Regions from separate parts of the Homo sapiens genome. Here region 1 is linked to region 2. Evidence: promoter capture Hi-C in 16 types of primary human blood cells and fetal thymus (Javierre and others, 2016). All regions are on one chromosome and are shown on one strand. Each heading gives the region's core, a stretch centred on a gene start or on the middle of the fragment in contact. The rest is flanking DNA. Distances are from core to core; before and after follow the strand shown.

What was found. The method cuts DNA at HindIII sites, captures the fragments that hold promoters and counts their contacts. A CHiCAGO score of 5 or more calls a contact.
Region 1: a fragment that was not itself captured here is called in contact with the fragment with the promoter of CDCA7 in region 2 in 1 of 17 cell types (fetal thymus); the score reaches 6.7 in fetal thymus.

Annotation. Positions count from the first base shown.
Region 1 is chr2:174,484,697-174,487,396 of GRCh38, forward strand. GPR155 (G protein-coupled receptor 155) reads right to left here and starts at 2,333. Exons shown (of 16, transcript NM_152529.7): 1 at 2,177-2,333. It overlaps GPR155-DT (GPR155 divergent transcript), which reads left to right and starts at 2,692. Exons shown (of 3, transcript NR_183819.1): 1 at 2,692-2,700. RefSeq lists silencers at 1,848-2,030, 2,294-2,473 and an enhancer at 1,884-1,953. The HindIII fragment of the contact is 201 bases long and covers 1,156-1,356 here.
Region 2 is chr2:173,353,431-173,356,130 of GRCh38, forward strand. It overlaps CDCA7 (cell division cycle associated 7), which reads left to right and starts at 1,442. Exons shown (of 10, transcript NM_031942.5): 1 at 1,442-1,554. The coding sequence starts at 1,534. RefSeq lists enhancers at 486-1,441, 744-833 and a silencer at 1,384-1,653. The HindIII fragment of the contact is 4,998 bases long and covers 1-2,700 here.

The DNA.
Region 1 (2,700 bases), core at 6-2,505, 1.1 Mb after region 2:
CAGGCAGGTGGACTGTGTGAGCCCAGGAGTTTCAGACCAGCCTGGCCAACATGGCAAAACCTTAGTCTCTACAAAAAATTAGCTGAGCTTAGTCATGCGTGCCTGTTGTCCCAGCTACCTGGGAGGCTGAGGTGGGAGGATCACCTGAGCCTAGGAGGTCTCTGCAGTGAGCCATGATCACACCACTGCACTCCAGCCTGAGTAAGACCCTGTCTCAAACAAAGACCTCCTTAGAGGGATATTGTGTGGATAGAATATTTTATATACAGCTTATCACAGAGTAGGCCTTCAAAAAACGGCAGCAATTGCTATTAGGAACTGTTGTCTTACTACTAATAATGATAAAAAAGTAAACATGTTAGTTCTTCAAACATAACTGGTAAAAGATCCACCAACTAAAAAAAGAGGGATGGGATGCGTCATAAATTTATCAGTTTTTGTTTTATACCAAACAATTAAGATAAGTTGAATTTAATTTGGTTTGATAGTAAATGGTTAACAGTGAAGGCAGAGCTCTTCATTTTTCTCAGGGTGATGGTCAAATAGTTGTAGCAATGTCCAAGATTAACTTTCAATTCGTTGAAAAATTAAAAAACAAAAAAACAAAACAAAAAAAAGGGCCGGGCGCAGTGGCTCACGCCTGTAATCCCAGCACTCTGGGAGGTCGAGGCGGGCGGATCACCTGAGGTCGGGAGTTGGAGACCAGCCTGGCCAGCATGGTGAAACCCTGTCTCTACTAAAAAGACAAAAATTAGCCGGGCTTGGTGGCAGATGCCTGTAATCCCAGCTACTCGGGAAGCTGAGGCAGGAGAATCTCTTGCACCCGGGAGGCAGAGGTTGCAGTGAGCCGAGATCCTGCCATTGCCCTCCAGCCTGAGCAACAGAGCAAGACTCCGTCTCAAGAAAAAAAAAAAAAAAAAGCAATCTGCCCCTCCCCATGAGGTTTCTTTTAACGTTTCTCAGTATTATAAAAGAAATACCTGCTGAGGTAAAGTCAAAATAATCAAAATGACTTTAAAAGTTTCATTTCATCCTAATCTTTTTTAAACGGGAAGATAATATGCTTTCTAAAGCATATTTTAAAATGAACAGGAACCACAGCAAGGGAAGTTTTAAAAAAAAAATTACATCCAGCCTTTTTATCTATAAAAACAAAGCTTGTTACAGAACAAACACGTTCACAGTAAAAGACCACTCGCTGAGGCACGAACTGAAGAAATGCTACTGTACTTACAAACCGCTTCTAGCCACATCACATTTGGCTTAGATCACATAAACGAACCACTGATACTGTAAATAACTGCTATTAAGTGAAAATGCGGGGGGAAGGCGAGGGTTGACTAACTTCATAGAGAAAGCTTTAAACTCTCAGGCTATTTCTCAAACATCCAACATCCTTTATCCCGTGGGATAAGTGTAATACAGTGTGGTACTATTAGAGCACTCTTCAACATTAATAGTCGCACCATTCACCCACTCCTACCTACTTGCAGGGCGCCAAATGTCCTCCCTAGAGACCCAGGGTAGGGAGCGCTGAGCACTGCCTCCTTGCCTCGTCTGCAGGGACAGACTGTGGCCCTCCAAGATAAGGGGCGCAGAGAGTTCCTAACCGAATAGGCTGCTCGGAGAGCAGCTGCCAGCCAACCCCTGGGAAGGCAGCTGTGGAAGTGGAAAGGCAGCCAGGGGTCTTTGCCTGGCGTAAGAAAAAGGTGGTCGCTAGTCTTCCCAGGGCACGGGAGTCACAACGTCATGGTAACTAACATACCCCAAAAACGGGTAAGGGAGAAAATTTGGCGCAGTGCTCCAGGTGCCTGGGCAGAAGCCTTCGGAAGGGCCAGATACTGAGGGTACCCTCGGGATAAAGGGAAGAGTCTAAGAAAGACAGGGTGGACGCCCGTGCAGTGAGGAGCTTCCCAAACTAGGGATGGCAGTTCTGTCTCCGGAGGGGACGAGACACCCCCTCCCCCGCGCGAGCCTTCCCGGGTGATCTCACACGTTCCACAGGCAGGCGCTGCGGGGCAGAGACAGCAGGTCCAGACAACGGGCCGCGGGGCCAGGGCGCAGAGGGTCGGCGGCTGCCCACGTGCCCAGGCCTGAGGGGCAGAGGCAGGGGTACCCCGTGCCCGCAAGGGAGAACCAGGACCCAGCAGGTCCGCGCTCCAGGGGCCCCTCTCACCTGCTTCGTCTGCAACCTTGGAGTGGCGAGGAGAAGGGAGCTGGTGCTCGCAGGGTGCCAAGCAGGGAGAAGACCACCGTCATCTCCCGCCCCCAGCCCTCTTCGCCGAGCGCAACCGGGTGCCAGCTGCAGCAGCTTAGGCACGTTCCGATAAAGTAAGGTGGGGTAAGCCGATGCGGCCCTGTCAGCTCAGCCCCTCGCCGGCCGCGAGGCCCCGCCCCCGCCCCGCCTTCAGGCCCCGCTCCCTCCCAGCCCCGCCTTCAGACCCCGCCCCCAGCCCCGAACTTCCAGCAAGACGGGCCGCTTCCCGCCCTCGAGCCCCGCCCATTTCCAGGAGCCTTGAGCCCAGAGTCTCCGTCCCGCCCTCAGGCCCCACCCACAGCCTCGGGCCTCCGAGCCACACGTTCCCCAACCCCGCCTTCAGTCCCCGCCCCCTCCTCCAGCCTCGGAGCCCCAGGGTACCCGGCCCCGCCCTGCCGGCTGGGAGCCTCCCAGCCGCGATCCTCCGGGGCGGGACTTCCGGC
Region 2 (2,700 bases), core at 192-2,691:
AAAACACATACACCAAATTATTTTCTTGTGCTCCCAGGAAGACTAAAAATTTCCCTATCAGAACCTTTCACAGGCAAAGTGACTTAATCTTCCCCTGCTTCATGGATCTAGTAATTCCAAATTTTCATATATTTAGCTTTAGTGGCACAAAATTATATTCCCAAATGTTTATTCATTCAACAAATACTTACTGAGGGCCCTGTAATTCCGTAATTTCACCACCCACCGATAGCCTCTCCTCCTGGCACTCACCTTCTAGACCTTGAGCTCTTTGTCCCTTGCACAGTGGCAGAGTGATTACTGGGTAGGTATATTTAAGAAAGGCTGGAAGACTCCTTCCAATCCATTGTCCTCGGGCATTATTTACTTGCTCACAGTTTTTGTATTCAGTACACCAAGAGAGGAACACAGTATGTCCATGCACTCTCTTACTGCAAAGGAATTAATTATTCCCCAGAGAAAAGTTTTGAAATGAGGGGGAAATGCGAATGTTTTCATTTCAAGCGCTTGTTTTAAATGTTAAGAGTATAATTAGTGTCTTCTAAAGAAACTAAATTTACTTTTTCTTGTAGAAGCAAGTTTTGCTCTTCACGCACACAAAAAGCCTCGCTTTATTTCATTTTTTCGTTGTAATGCCAAGTTTGGTTAAAAGGGCAATGAAAAGTTTTCTCGTTCGCACTGACTCAGGGTAGTTCTCAATTCTGAAGACAGAGAAGATCATCAAGCCACAATTGTTCAATCTTTAGTTTCAATCCCCAACAGATAATCGTTAAAGGTTAACTATACTATAGACGTCTTCATCAAGCTGCTGCGGCTTTTCTTCTACTTTGAAAACCACAAGTAAACAAGTCGGCTTCCTGTGCTTTTTGGAAAGAAAGATCAGGATTTAACTCATTTTATTGCTTCAGATAATGGTGTGGTTCCCAGATAAGAGGTGCTACATCCAGGGGCGGTGAACTCGATTATGAAGGGTGGAGTTCGTGCTGGATTCTATGATTTTTTAAATCTTGTAAACCGCACGCAGCAATGAAAGTGCTAAACGCCATGGTGCGTGACCCGCGCCACCCTCACGCTGCTCTCCTTTACCCCCCAGACTCCACTTTTCCTCCGCCACCACGAAAATTCTTGCAAATCAGACAGCTAACCCCGGGGCAATACGAACCATTTTCGCGCCACTCGCTCAGGACCGCGCAGCTGCACAAGGAGAGTGGTCCCCGTAGCCCCTAAAGCCCCCCTTTCTCAAAGGGGATTTTAGGAGTGCCCAAGGCTATCCTTTGAGGTCAGAATATATAGGGGGGTCGTGTTTTTTCCAGGGGGCCACCTAGTCTTGCGCCATGTCTGGCCGTTACCACAGCTTGCAGGACCTGTGTCCCAACGCGGGAAAGACAGCCCGAGCCCCGCCCCTCCGGGCCCGGGTCGGCGCGCCCAGCCTGCCAGCCGCGCTGCTGCTGCTCCTCCTGCTGTGGGACCGCTGACCGCGCGGCTGCTCCGCTCTCCCCGCTCCAAGCGCCGATCTGGGCACCCGCCACCAGCATGGACGCTCGCCGCGTGCCGGTGAGGGCTGGGCGGGCGAACCCGAGGGGCGGGCGCGGTGGGTGCTGGACGCAGGCGGGCGCGGGCCGACCCTCTCCAACTCCGCAGCCTAGCGCTGCCTTAACTGGTGGCCTGCCTAGGCGTTGCCCGCTTGGGCAAGCCCCTGATTTTGTGCACCTGGGATAACTGAGGGCCATGGGGACGTTCCTGCGTGGCGTGCGCACCCGAAGTGCGGGCGGCGTGGAGACTTGAGTCGTTTGCAGGATGGCTAGCAGCGCTGGAAAGCCCTAGGCACGTGCGTCCGCCAAAGGCCGGACAGCGGCCGGGAGCGCTGGCCGGTCCCGATTTTGCCTGCCAGGCAGAGCCAGCCTGCCTGCCCCCTGGGAGGTTGTCCCGCAGCGGCCCAGCCCTTTCCCGCACACAACTCGGAGCCAGTGCGTGGCTCGCCGCGTCTATACCCGCGCTCAGTGGGTGGCCCTTGGGCGCGCACCCCGCCCGGCAAGAGACGCGTCCGCTTCTAACCGCTGAGGGCCAGCGCGTCTGAGGTTTAAGGTCTTGCGAACCGGTCTCCTAGAACTTGGGCTGCGCACGCAGTGTGAAGCGACCGTAGTCCCGGGCGGTGGTTAAGTGCATTTAAAGGGCTTGGTGGGTCAAAGCGTTCGCCGACCATTTGCTCGTTTCCTACTTCCTCCACCCCAACCCCCAACCCCCCACCCCCCACCCCCCAGCCTTACTCTTAGCTGCAGGACGTTGCTCTGAGTGGAACGTTACTTTTTGCTCTAACGGAAGCCAGAACGTAGGGTCGGGCTCCTGGAGAGGGTAGAAGAGTGGGGGTTGGGTGAAACGGAAGACAATGACATGTTTAAAATAAATATCAGGGGTTAGGGACCCTCGCGGGGGTGGGTGCGATGGGGCGTGGTTTCAGAGCTGAGTCGCCGCCCCGGTGGAGCTGGGCATTGGCTTTCCGGATGAAGAAAACCATGTGTAGCTGGTCTTGGAACCTGACATGCCTGAGTTCAAATCTGAGCCACCATGGGACTTGAGTAATCCATTTCGCTTTCCTGAGCCTCAGTTTCCTCATTGGCTAAGTGAGAATAACGATAGCACCTTTGTTGCAAAGAATTAAACCTGACGTGAAAGTGTACTTAACATAGTGCCTGGCACGAA